Linked DNA regions of Homo sapiens: all the other regions are linked to region 3. The links are contacts of gene promoters, found by promoter capture Hi-C in human tissues and cell types (Jung and others, 2019). All regions are on one chromosome and are shown on one strand. Each heading gives the region's core, a stretch centred on a gene start or on the middle of the fragment in contact. The rest is flanking DNA. Distances are from core to core; before and after follow the strand shown.

Evidence for each region. Contacts are between HindIII fragments. The study calls those that stand out against the background at their distance.
Region 1: a fragment that was not itself captured here is called in contact with the fragment with the promoter of PIGU in region 3 in 1 of the 25 tissues and cell types used here (mesendoderm cells).
Region 2: a contact is called between a fragment that was not itself captured here and the fragment with the promoter of PIGU in region 3, in 1 of the 25 tissues and cell types used here (mesenchymal stem cells).
Region 4: a fragment that was not itself captured here is called in contact with the fragment with the promoter of PIGU in region 3 in 2 of the 25 tissues and cell types used here (IMR-90 fibroblasts and dorsolateral prefrontal cortex).
Region 5: a contact is called between a fragment that was not itself captured here and the fragment with the promoter of PIGU in region 3, in 3 of the 25 tissues and cell types used here (dorsolateral prefrontal cortex, hippocampus and spleen).

The regions. Positions count from the first base shown.
Region 1 is chr20:34,203,048-34,205,747 of GRCh38, forward strand. It overlaps a transcript of ASIP not described here. Among named protein-coding and RNA genes, the nearest start is that of ASIP, 37 kb to the right of the region's middle. The HindIII fragment of the contact is 6,854 bases long and covers 1-2,700 here.
Region 2 is chr20:34,321,332-34,324,097 of GRCh38, forward strand. No RefSeq gene overlaps it. Among named protein-coding and RNA genes, the nearest start is that of AHCY, 19 kb to the left of the region's middle. The HindIII fragment of the contact is 4,210 bases long and covers 1-2,766 here.
Region 3 is chr20:34,675,806-34,678,505 of GRCh38, forward strand. PIGU (phosphatidylinositol glycan anchor biosynthesis class U) reads right to left here and starts at 1,287. Exons shown (of 12, transcript NM_080476.5): 1 at 1,151-1,287. The coding sequence starts at 1,280. RefSeq lists enhancers at 755-1,641, 1,642-2,527 and silencers at 907-1,006, 1,247-1,356. The HindIII fragment of the contact is 20,123 bases long and covers 1-2,700 here.
Region 4 is chr20:34,173,243-34,175,942 of GRCh38, forward strand. No RefSeq gene overlaps it. Among named protein-coding and RNA genes, the nearest start is that of EIF2S2, 62 kb to the left of the region's middle. The HindIII fragment of the contact is 6,088 bases long and covers 1-2,700 here.
Region 5 is chr20:34,345,150-34,347,849 of GRCh38, forward strand. No RefSeq gene overlaps it. Among named protein-coding and RNA genes, the nearest start is that of ITCH, 17 kb to the right of the region's middle. The HindIII fragment of the contact is 6,422 bases long and covers 1-2,700 here.

The sequences.
Region 1 (2,700 bases), core at 91-2,590, 470 kb before region 3:
TCTGCCTGCCTCGGCCTCCCAAAGTGCTGGGATTACAGGCGTGAGCCTTGGCTATTCTTGAACTTCTATATTTCCACATAAACTTTAGGATAACTTTATAAATTCTACCAAAAAAAACCCTGCTGGAATTTTTATTGGGATTACATTAAATCTGTCCATCAATTAATATGAAAGTCTTTACAATATTAAATTTTTTTATCCATGAATATGGTATATCCCTTCACTAGTTGAAGTCTTATTAAAATTTTTTGATGTTTTATAGTTTTCTATGTAGAAACCTGGTATATTATTCATTGGATTTATTCCCAATTATTTTCTATTTATTTTATAAGTGGCATATATATATGTATATTATATATATATTTTTTGAGACACGGTTTCACTCTGTCACTCAAGCTGGAGTGCAGTGGCATGATTTTGGCACACTGCAACCTCTGCCTCCTGGGTTCAAGTGATTCTCATGCCTCAGCCTCCCAAGGAGCTGGGATTACAGGCACCTGCCACCACACGTGGCTAATCTTTGCATTATTGTAGAGACAGGGTTTCGCCACGTTGGCCTGGCTGGTCTCGAACGCCTAACTTCAAGTGATCCTCCCACCTCGGCCTCCCAAAGTGCTGAGATTACAGGCATGAGCCAATGCACCCAGCCTTATAAGTGGCGTATTTTAATTTTATTTATTTATTTATTTTTTGAGATGGAGTTTCGCTCTTTTTTGCCCAGGCTGGAGTGCAATGGCACGATCCTGCCTCACTGCAACCTCTGCCTCCTAGGTTCAAGCAATTTTCCTGCCTTAGCCTCCCAAGTAGCTGGGATTACAGGCACACGCCACCATACCCGGCTAATTTTGTATTTTTAGTAGAGATGGGGTTGTTTCACCATGTTGGCCAGGCTGGTCTCGAACTCCTGACCTCAGGTGATCCACCTGCCTTGGCCTCAAAGTTCTGGGATTACAGGCGTGAGCCACCACGCCCGGCCATAAATGGCATATTTTAATGTTCATTTTTAGTTGTTTGATGCTGGCATATTGACATAATAATTAAAATTTTGTATTTATACTTGCATACAGCAACCCTGCTTAATTAACTTAATAATTCTTATAGTTTATTTATAGATTCACAATCATGTAGTATGTGTAGTGTGTGTAGTGATTTCTTTCAGATAGTTATTTTTTTAATTTTTTTTTTTTTTTGAGACGGAGTTTTGCACTTGTTGTCCAGGCTGGAGTGCAATGGTGCAATCTTGGCTCGCCGCAACCTCCGCCTCGTGGGTTAAAGCGATTCTCCTGCCTCAGCCTTCCGAGTAGCTGGGATTATAGGCACACGCCACCATGCTGGCTAATTTTGTATTTTTAGTAAAAATGGGGTTTCTCCATGTTGGTTAGGCTGATCTTGAACTCCTGACCTCAGGTGATCTACCCACTTTGGCCTCCCAAAGTGCTGGGATTACAGGTGTGAGCCACTGCTCCTGGCCCGTTTTTTAACTTCTTTTTCTTGAATTATTGGACTGGGTAAAACCTTAAGAACAATGATGAATAAAAGTGAAAATAGCAGGCATCCTTATCTTAGTTCTGATAGAAAGAAAGCACTCAATAATTTCAGTTAAATATGATGGTTGCTGGAGTTTACTTTTTGTAGTTACTCTTTATCAGATTGAGGAATTTTTCTTCTAATTCTAGTTTGATATAATTTTTAAACATTAACAGATGGTGAATTTTATGAAATGTATTTTTCTCATCAGTTAAAATGAGCCTGTGATTTTTACACTTTATTCATTTTATTTATTTTCTATTTTTATGGATAGGTAATAGTTGTACAATTTATGTGGTACATGTGATACTTTGATACAAGCATATAATGTGTAATGATCAAATCAGGATAATGGAATATCCATCACCTCAAGCATTTATCATTTATTTGTGTTGGGAACATTCCAAATCTACTCTTCTAGTTATTTTGAAAGGTACAATAAATTATACTTAATTATACTCACCCTATTGTGCTACCAAGTACAAGTGTGCCTGGAATTGGTGGGTTCTTGGTCTCGCTGACTTCAAGAATGAAGCCATGGACCCTCACGGTGAGTGTTACAGTTCTTAAAGATGGTGTGTCCGGAGTTTGTTCCTTCAGTTGTTCAGATGTGTCCGGAGTTTCTTCCTTCTGGTGGGTTCGTGGTCTTGCCGACTTCAGGAGTGAAGCTGCAGACCTTCACAGTGAGTGTTACAGCTCTTAAAGGCATCACGTCCAGAGCTGTTCATTCCTCCCAATGGGTTTGTGGTCTCACTGGCTTCAGGAGTGAAGCTGCAGACCTTCGTGGTGAGTGTTACAGCTCATAGAGGCGGCGCATCCGGAGTTGTTCATTCCTCCCGCTGGGCTCGTGGTCTCGCTGGCTTCAGGAGTGAAGCTGCAGACCTTCTCGGTGAGTGTTACAGCTTATAAAGGTAGTGCAGACCCAAAGGGTGAGCAGCAGCAAGATTTATTGCGAAGAGCGAAAGAACAAAGCTTCCACAGCGTGGAAGGGGACCCAAACGGGTTGCTGCTACTGGCTCTGGTTGCCTGCTTTTATTCCCTTATTTGGCCCCACCCACATCCTGTCGCTTGGTCTATTTTACAGAGCGCTGATTTCTCCATTTTACAGAGCGCTGATTTTGCCGTTTTACAGAGTGCTGATTGGTGCTTTTACAATCCTTTAGCTAGACACAG
Region 2 (2,766 bases), core at 19-2,518, 350 kb before region 3:
GGTGGAGTTTCTCTTTTGTCACCCAGGCTGGAGTGCAATGGCGTGATCTCGGCTCACTACAACTCCACCTCCCAGGTTCAAGCGATTCTCCTGCCTCAGCCTCCCAAGTAACTGGGATTACAGGTGTGCACCACCACGCTTGGCTAATTTTTTGTACTTTTAGTACAGACTGGGGGTCTCACCATGTTGGCCAGCCTGGTCTCGAACTCCTGACCTCAGGTGATCTGCCTGCTTTGGCCTCACAAAGTGCTGGGATTACAGGTGTGAGCCACCGTGATTGGCAGGTTTAAAGCATTCTAAGTCACAGAATAACATAGGAGATCTGCACAAAATGCAGGTCATAAATACCTTGCTAATAAAACAGGTTGCAGTAAAGAAGCCACCAAAACCCACCAAAGCCAAGATGGCCACGAGAGTAACCTCTGGTCGTCCTCACTGCTACATTCCCACTGCAGCCATGACAGTTTACAAATGCCTTTGCAATGTTAGGAGGTTATCCTATAAGGTCTAAAAGGGGAGGGATGAATCATCCACCCCTTGTTTAGCATATAATCAAGAAATAACCATAAAAATGGGCAACCAGCGGCCATTGGGGCTGCTCTGCCTATGGAGTAGTCATTCTTTTATTCTTTTACTTTCCTAATAAACTTGTTTTCACTTTATGGGCTTGCCCTGAATTTTTTCTTGCGTGAGATCAAAGAACCCTCTTTGGGGTCTGGATCGGGACCCCTTTCCTGTAACACTATGGATGTCTGTGAGTGTGTGGGACAGAGGAGTGAGACCTTGAGGTCAAGTGTAAGCATGTGTGTCTACAACTGTGCATAATTAGGACTGTGTGTGGGTAAGTTAGCTGGTGAGGGTTATAAGAATATGAGATATGGCCAAGCATGTGTGTTAGATTGAGTGTGTATGTGTGTATGAGTGTTATGTGTTTTCCAGAAGGTGCTTGTCCATGCCTGATACTTGCAAAAAATGAGAAAATGTCGAAACAAAGAACACTTTCAGAGCTTTACAGAGATGTTCAAAGCAAATGAACCTCTGGGTACTGTGACCAGCTGGGAAGATGAGGCGAGCCAGGTGGAGGGGTGTGGAGAAAAGCTTTTCTGAAGTTCCTAATCTCACTCAGGCAAGGAGCCAGGGACCCTATTAGGGTCAAGTGCTTCCCACGCACAGTTGCCTTCTTAGTTTAGATGACAGCTGCACATCTGGGCCTTCTTCCTCCTCATCCCCATCATAATTAGTGGTTAATTCGTTCATTCATACAACAAACATTTACTCAGTACTGACTTTTAAGTGAAGTTTAGCCTAAACCTGACTCCTCACATATTTTGAAGTTCAGCCTAAAGGTTTCTCTGTACATTGTGAACTATAACCTAAATGGAATTGTAAACAGACTGCAGCCTACTCTTGTGCCAGTCACCGAGTTTTGCCAATCAGGTGTGGCCAGCTATTCAAACCGTGTTCAAATAAGACAAAAACGCCATGCTATAACCAATCTGGTTGTTTCTACAGAAACAACATTTTCCTTTTTCTGTTCATAAATCTTCTTCCACCACGTGGCTGTGTCATAGGCTATACTCATAGGTCGAACCAGAGCAACACCATCTTGAATAGGGGCTGGGTAAAATAAGGCTGAGACCCTGCTGAGCTGCATTCCAGGAAGTTAGGCATTCTAAGTCACAGGATGAGATAGGTCAGCATAAGATACAGGTTACAAAGACCTTGCTGATAAAACAGGATACAGTAAAGAAGCCAGCCAAAACCCACCAAAAACCAAGATGACATGAAAGTGCCCTCTGGTCGTCCTCACTGTTCATTATACGCTAATTATAATGCATTAGCATGCTAAGAAACAGTCTCGCCAGTGCCACGACAGTTTACAGATGCATGGCAACAGCTGGAAGTTACTCTATAAGGGAAGGAAACTTCACTTCCAGGAATTGCACAACCCTTTCCCAGGAAACTCATGAATAATCCACCCTTTGTTTAGCATATGGTCAAGAAATAATGATAAGTATAATCAGTTGAGCAGCCCATGCTGCTGCTCTGCCTATGGAGTAGCCACTCTTTTATTCCTTTACTTTCTTTTTTTTTTTTCTGAGACAAGTCTTACTCTGTCGCTCAGGCGGGAGTGCAGTGGCGCGATCTCGGCTCACTGCAACCTCTGCCCCACAGGTTCAAGCAATTCTCCTGCCTCAGCCTCCTGAGTAGCTGTGATTACAGGTGCATGCCACCACGGCTGGATAATTTTTTGTATTTTTAGTGGAGACGGGCTTTCGCTGTGTTAGCCAGGATGGTCTTAATCTCCTGACCTCTTGATCCGCCTGCCTCAGCCTCCCAAAGTGCTGGGATTACAGGCGTGAGCCACCGCACCCGGCCCTATTCCTTTACTTTCTTAATAAACTTTTCACTTTGTGGACTTGCCCTGAATTCTTTGTTGCGTGAGGTCCAAGAACCGTCTCTTGGAGTCTAGCTAGATTAGGACCCCTTTCCAGTGACAGCTGCGTGGGAGTCTCTGAGCCTACACTGGCTTGGGAGGCTGCCCATTCTTTGCTCAATTAAACTCTTTTACGTTTAATTCAGCTAGTTTTTCTTTTAACACTACTAAGGGCCAGGAACTGTGCTACAGCAGTGAGCGAAGCCCTGTCCTTGAGGAGCTAATGTCCTAGAGGGGGGATATATATATATATAAACATTACACAGTTATTCTACACATATATAAACATTACATAGTTATACTGCACATGTATAAACATTACATATATA
Region 3 (2,700 bases), core at 37-2,536:
TCCAGACCAGCCTGGGCAACATAGAAAGACCCTGTCTCTAAACAAAAAACAAAAACAAAAACAAAAAAACTTTAGCATTTAAAGGACACAAAGGGGACTTCTGGGGTGCTGATACTGTTTCTTGAACTAGGTGCTGGCTACATGAGTGAATACAGTTTTTAAAAATTCATTGAACTCTACACTTACTTAATATGCATTGTATGTATACTGTACTTCAGTAAAAAAAAAAAAAAAAAAGTTGTTTGTTTTTTTTTAATCATCAAACTCTGGCCTAAACCTAGCTTCCACCCCATTACTCCCCTGCTTTGGACATTTCACATCCTTGAACGTTTCTTCATCCTATTTACTTTCTGCTACCTGGAACTCTCCTTTTCTCTAATCTCCCTTTCAAAACCCTACATCCTTCAAGAGTCAGCTCAAATCCCACATTCTGGAAAACTGGAAAGGTAGGGGATAGTTTATTCAGGGTCAGAATACTAAGGAAGGAACTGGGTGGACACATAAAGTATACTTTTCATGAATTATTATAACGATTTGTCTCCCTCACTAGCCTGTGCAGCTACTTCAGGCCAACTTCGCTTTCTCGCTGTAGGCGTTAGTATAAAACAATGTTCGGTGAAGAACTTAGTAAGGAACAGTAACAAAAATTGCCCTGCAAGTCCCAGACTGAGAAGAGACGTCTAAAGCACACGCACACTCTCCTCGCTTAAGCAAAATTGGTCCCCTCATCCCGGACCCCCTCACACATAACCTTTTATCCCAGGGAGCACCCCTGGCGATCCCGCCCCAAATCCCAAACTCCTCTGCAAGCCGCGCTCCACAAGCACCTCCTCCTCTTATTCCAACCCTTCCCACAGACCACACTCCTCGGCTCAGGACACTGAATGGGACACGCCCCCTCAGATCCCCACCACTAGGTGGTCCGGCCCCCAGGGCCCAAACCTCACGACACTGTCCCCACGCCCCGGTCCCCACGCCCCCTCCCCTCACCAGCCCCGCCCTCAGGCCCCGCCCTCTCCAAGAACCCCACGAGACAGTCAGTTAGTTCTCTAGGAACCGCGCGCTGGCGGTCACTGCCCCCGCCTCCCATTCACAGAGGCCGCGGGAGGGCAGGTGGGGCCTGACAGTCTGCTCGAGCCAGTGGCCTCACCTCTCTTCCAAGAGCTCAGTGGGGACACCACCTCCACCCGCTCGGAAATGAACTCGGCCAGACTGGAGCGGAACAAGGCCGCCCGCACTGTCACAGCCACCACCAGCACCAGGACCAAGGGAGCCGCCATGATAACTGGGGCGGGCGCGCGGGCGGGGAGGGAAGGCGAGGCGGAGGAGCCTCGCGCGCTGTGCGCCACGCTCTGTAGTTCCGCGGGTGGGCGCGCGCTGCCGCTGGCGCCGGAGAGGCCAGACGTGGGGACTACGGCTCCCAGAAAGCCTTGCGGCGAGGCGGGCCGGAGCGACGGAAAGCGGGCGCCTCAAGCTGCGTATGCAGAAGGTGGGGCGAAACCTTCTACGATCGCAGGTGTTTTGTGAAGCCGCGCCGCTATAGCGGGGCTGAAACGCTGCTGAAAGTAGAAGCGGAAGTAGTCGCCTTCCTGGGATTGTGAGAGACTTTTAAACAGATGTTAAATTCACTCTTGCGTGTATGTTTTCAATGCCAAAATGTTTATTTTTATTTTTATTTTTATTTTTTTTGAGACGGAGTCTCGCTCTGTCGTCCGGCTGGAGTGCAGTGGCGCGATCTTGGCTCACTGCAACTTCCGCCTCCTGGGTAGCTGGGATGACAGGCGCCCACCACCACGCGCGGCTATTTTTTTTTTTTTTTTTTTTTTGTATTTTTAGTAGAGATGGGGTTTCACCATGTTGGCCAGGTTGGTCTCGAACTCCTGACCTCAGGTGATCCGCCCGCCTCGGCTTCCCAAAATGCTGGGATTACAGGCGTGAGCCACCGCACCCTGCCCAAAATGTTTATGTTTTTTGTTTTTGAGACAGGGTCTCAGTGCCGTCGCCCAGGCTGGAGTGCAGTGGCGCAATCTCAGCTCACTGCAGCCTGGACCTCCCGGGCTCCAGAGTAGCTGGGACCACAGGTGCGCGCCACCACACCCGGCTAAGTTTTTGTACTTTTAGTAGAGACGGGGTTTCGCCATGTTGCCCAGGCTGGTACCTTTTATGTTTTTAAAGAGTGTTAAATGTGTATTTTTTAAAAAATTTATTCTGGCAGTTGTTTGTTAAACGCCAACTATTTTCCAGGCACTATGTTAGGTTCTACAGATGCGTTTTGGAGTAGTAGACTGATTTATTAGCTAGTTCAACAAGTCGCTTAACCCTTGTGTGCTGAAAAATGTGCTGATTATAGGCTAACTAGGGACAGTTGAGGAAGGCTTAGAAATTTTTTTTTTGTTTTGGAAACGGAGTTTCGCTCTTATTGCCCGGGTTGGAGTGCAATGGCGCGATCTCAGCTCACTGCAACCTCCGACTCCCAGGTTCAAGCGATTCTCCTGCCTCAGCCTCCCGAGTAGCTGGGATTACATGCATGCGCCATCACGCCCGGCTAATTTTTTGTAATTTTAGTAGAGACAGGGTTTCTCTATGTTGGTCAGGCTGGTCTCGAACTCCAGACTTCAGGCGATCCACCTGCCTGCCTCGGCCTCCCAAAGTGCTGGGATTACAGGCTTGTGTCATCGTGCCTGGCCGGAAGGCTTAGAA
Region 4 (2,700 bases), core at 83-2,582, 500 kb before region 3:
GTCTTGGAGCTTCTGCTATTAAACCCTTTTCTTAAAATGTGCTAGGGCTGCCTAGTTGCTCTTCTATGTAAAGAAAAACGTCTCTGAAAGAGTGTGTTGATTTGAAAAGTATATTCATCATATTCCAGGAACAGCTTACATTTTCCCACACTTTCATCCTTAAATAAAAAGTTGGCTGGGTGCAGTGGCTCATTGCCTGTAATCCCAGCACTTTGGGAGGCCGAGGCAGGCGGATCACGAGGTCAGGAGATCGAGACCATCCTGGCTAACACGGTGAAACCCCGTCTCTACTAAAAATACAAAAAATTAGCCAGACATGGTGGCAGGCGCCTGTAGTCCCAGCTACTTGGGAGGCTGAGGCAGGAGAATCGCGTGAAACCGGGAGGCGGAGCTTGCAGTGAGCCCAGATCGTGCCACTGCACTCCAGCCTGGGAGACTTTGAGACTCCATCTCAAAAAAAAAAGTTACAAATTAAGGCATCATACACTCATAATTGTCAATAGAATCTATCCCTGGCGAGTTATCAAAAATATGGGCTTAGCAGTAACGTCTTAATCACAAATAACTTTTCAAATGTACAAAGAAAATCTTTTTTCTCTGACTCATACAGTGAGATACAAAAATCAAATTGGTCCCTTAAGATAGGATTAGAGTTGATAAGATCATCACCCTTAGAATTAGGAGGTAAACGTTTTAGACCTGGAACAAAGTTAGCACCTAGTCGTGCAAATAAAGAAAGGACTCTAGAGTAGAGAGAACAATCCAGGGACTTCCTGGGTCATTTATTTATGAATTGACTTTTGACCCTTCTCATCATAGGCTGTGACCTATTCTTAAAGTTTGATCTTTTTTCAGTCCTTTTACAGCATGGCAGTATTTCCTTAAGATCTACCAAGAATCCTAGCGAGACTTAATTCTGTTAGCCTAACAATATGAGAAATTCAGAAAGTTAAGCGTACTTACTTCCTGGACTTTTACCCCTGTTTCCTATTCTCTAGTCCCCCTCCTGAAATTAGTGCTGATCAGAACAGAAGTTTGAAGAAACTACCTGAGGCTGGAGAAAGTAGCACCAGAAAAGAGCAGAAGGAACAATCCTCAGAGTACCAGCCCCAACAAGATAAAATTCACTATGTCTGACATTCAAAAAAAGTTATCAGGCCTGCAAAGAAACAGGAAAATGTGATCCATAATGAGGAGAAAAATCAAATCAATAAAACAGATCAAGAATTATACAGAAGATAGAATTGGTAGACAGAGACATTAAAACAGTTCTTATAACTGTATTCCACATGTTCAAGAAGCTAGAGGAAAGATTGAAAATGATAAGTAGAGTCATGGAAGTTATTTTAAAAGATCTAAGTCTAACTTCTAGAGATGAAAAATATGGTATTTGATATGAAAAATACAATGGATAAGATTAACAGCAAATTAAACATTGCCAAAGGAAAGACTAAATAACTTGAAGACATAGCTATAAAAACAATAAGAAATGAAACACATAGAGAAAAAAGACTTTAAAAAGAGCACATCAGCGAGCCTTGAGACAACATCAGGTGGCCTAATATATGTGTAATTAGAGACCCCAAAGGAGAAGGGAGGGTACAGAAAAAAAAGAAATAATGACCAAATAGTAATGAGCAGATAAAGACCCAAAATTTTTCAAATTTGATGAAAACTATAAACCCATAGACCCAAGAAGTTCAACAAACCCTACATGGGAAGCATGAAGAAAATGACACCAAGGAACTTTATAATCAATTTGCTTAAAGCTATTGTTAAAGAAAAAAATCTTCTTCATCTCCAGTGCCTTAGGTTAGGTCCTCTTCATTTCTTAGCTGAACTTTTACAATAATCTCCAACTAATTGCCCTGCCTCTAATATAATTCCCCACCAGTCTTTTCCTCTTCACCACTGTTAGAGAACTCTTCACTGACCATTGACTAAAATCCAGGCTCTTAGCACTGCAAGTAAAGCTTTGTTAGCATGGCATATGTGACCCTTTTCACTCTCTCCAATCTCGGCACCCTATCCTCCACATCTGTTCCCAGTCCTCTAACCACATGGTACAGTTCGTGGAAAGAGCTGTACTGCTCTGGCCTCTATGCCTTTACATATGCTATTGTCTGTCTGGAAATGTCCTTCTCTTCCTTGGTTTATTAATCTGTGGCCCCCACTAATCTCTAAGCTCCTGGAAGACGACAGACTGTCTCTTTTTCACTGCAGTGTTGGGCTGAAAAAGGAAATAGAGTGGAATTTGAGAAGGGGTGTGGAAGGCAGGAGGAGGGAAGGGAGAAAAGAACAATAGAAAAAACAAGACTGAAGAGCTTAGCCAAAGTGTTCTATTTCCACAAAGAAGGTAAATATAGAAGAGAGAAGGCCGGGCATGGTGGCTCATGCCTGTAATCCCAGCACTTTGGGAGGCCGAGGCAGGAGGATCACGAGGTCAAGAGATTGAGACCATGCTGGCCAACACGGTAAAACCCCGTCTCTATTAAACAATACAAAAATTAGCTGGGCATGGTGGCATGTGCCTGTAGTCCCAGCCACTTGGGAAGCTGAGGCAGGAGAATCACTTGAACCTGGGTGGCAGAGGTCAGAGGTTGCAGTGAGCCCAGATTGCGCCACTGCACTTCAGCCTGGCGACAGAGCGAGACTCCGTTTAAAAAAAAAAAAAAAAAAAAAGACAGAGAGAAAAGATGG
Region 5 (2,700 bases), core at 40-2,539, 330 kb before region 3:
CAAGATGTATAGGGGTTTTCCCCACACATCAGGCAATCAGTCAGTTCTGCAGTGGACACCAGCTGGGTGTTTTCTAGTCCAAATAAACTCTGATACTATCCACCTGAAAATAACACCAGGTCCCATAGGTTGAGTGCTCAGTCCCCAAGACTATCCTCACTTCAGATGCCAGTAATAAGTCCAGGCCTCCAGAACTTCAAACTAACCAGCCATAAATCAGGATTCCCACAACTCCCTCCCTGGGTTCCATTAATTTGGTAGAGGGACTTACAGAACTCAGGGAAACATATACATTACAAACGCTACAAATAAACAGCCAGATGGAGAGAACAAAGGGTAAAGTCTGAAAGGGTCTGGAGCACGGGAGCTTTTATCCCTATGGAGATGGGGTGTCACCTCCTCCTCCTGCGTGTGGATGTGCTCTCATTCACCTTCCTGGAAGCCTACAGGTGTTCAGCTATTTAGAAGCTCTCTGAACCCAGTCGCTTTGGTTTATAATGGAAGCGTCAGGCTGGGCCCAGAGGCTCACACCTGTAATCCCAGCACTTTGGGAGGCCTAGGCAGGTAGACCACCTAAGGTCGGGAATTCGAGACCAGCCTGGCCAACACGGTGAAACCCCATCTATATTAAAAATACAAAAATTAGCTGGTTGTGGTGGCAGGTGCCTGTAGTCCCAACTACTTGGGAGATTGAGGCACAAGAATTGCTTGAACCTTGGAGGTGGAGATTGCAGTGAGCTGAGATCACGCCATTGCACTCCAGCCTGGGAAACAGAGTGAGACTCTTGTCTCAAAAAAAAAAGCATCATTAGGTAAGCATGATTGATAAATAATTGGCCATTGGTGATTAACTTCACTTAGAGACCCTCCCTGGAGGTTGGGGGTGGGGCTGAAAGTTTCAACCCTTTGAACTAATGGTTGGATCCTCTGGCAGCCACTCTCCCATCCTGTGGTTATCTTGGAACTTTCCCCGAATCCTGTCATTAACATAAATTCTGCCGGGCGCTGTGTCTCACACCTGTAATCTCAGCACTTTGGGAGACCAAGGCGGGCGGATCATGAGGTGAGGAGATTGAGACCATCCTGGCCAACATGGTGCAACCCCGTCTCTACTAAAAAAAAAAAAAAAAAAAAAAAAACAAAAAACTAGCCAGGTGTGGTGGCACGTGCCTGTAATCCCAGCTACTCAGGAGGCTGAGGCACAAGAATCTCTTTAACCAGGGAGGCAGAGGTTGCAGTGAGTGGAGATCGCACCACTGCATTCCAGCCTGGTGACAGAGCGAGACTCCCTCTCAAAACAAAACAAAATATAAACTCAAGTGTGTTTGAAAAGGGATTGTTTTAAATAACAATATTTTTATCTTTCACCTTCTGGCACTGAAGCTATTCCAAGAGGGGTTTCAAAGATCTAGGACAAAAGGCCAAATATTTTAACAAAAGATTTTTTTTTTTTGAGACAGAGTCTCGCTCTATTGCCCAGGCTGGAGTGCAGTGATGCAATCTCGGCTCACTGCAACCTCCGCTTCCTAGGTTTAAGCAATTCTCCTGCCTCAGCCTCCTGAGTAGCTGGGACTGCAGGCATATGCCACCGCACCCGGCTAATTTTTTGTGTTTTTAGTAGAGACGGGGTTTCACCACATTGGCCAGGCTGGTCTCGATCTCCTGATGTCATGATCCGCCTGCCTCGGCCTACCAAAGTGCTGGGATTACAGGCATGAGCCACTGCGCCCAGCCAACAAAATATATTCTTATTGCTTTAGATACTTCCCTTATCCCCCAAGTTGGATTAAATGCTAGCTCTAGGGCTGGGCTCAGTGGCTCACGCCTGTATTCCCAGCACTTTGGGAGGCCAAGGCAGGTAGATCACTTGAAGTCAGGAGTTGGAAACCAGCCTGGTCAACATGGTAAAACCTACCTCTACTAAAAATACAAAAGTTGCTGGGCTCAGTGGCTCACGCCTGCAATCCCAGCACTTTGGGAGGCCGAAGTGGGCTGATCACGAGGTCAGGAATTTGAGACCAGCCTGGCCAGCATGGTGAAACCCTATCTTTACTAAAAATACAAAAATTAGCCAGGCATGGTGGCGTGTGCCTGTAATCCCAGGTACTTGGGAGGCTGAGGCAGGAGGATCGCTTGAATCCAGGAGGCAGAGATTGCAGTGAGCCGATATGGCGCCACTGCACTCCAGCCTGGCCAAAAGTGTGACTTTGTCTCAAAAAAAAAAAAAAAGTGGCCGAGCGCAGTGGCTCACGCCTGTAATCCCAGCACTTGGGAGGCCGAGGTGGGCAGATCATGAGGTCAGGAGTTCGAGACCAGCCTGGCCAACACAGTGAAACCCCATCTCTACTAAAAATACAAAAATTAGCTGGGCATGGTGGCAGGCACCTGTAATCTCAGCTACTAGGGAGGCTGAGGCAGGAGAATCGCTTGAACCCAGGAGGCGGAGGTTGCAGTAGCTGAGATCGCATCACTGCATTCCAGCCTGGGTGACAGAGCTGGACTGTCTCCAAAAAAAAAGTGCTGTTCCATTTGGAAGTCAAGGCTGATGCCACCTAAGTGGGTTCCTGCTATCCTGCTACAAGGAACTTGAAGACATCCTCTTTCTTCATTGGCAGGACATCAAGGGCTCTGGACATTGTGAAAGTTTCCCTTGAAGTTACAATGGGAATCCAGAACAACGTCACATGGACCCCTCCATGG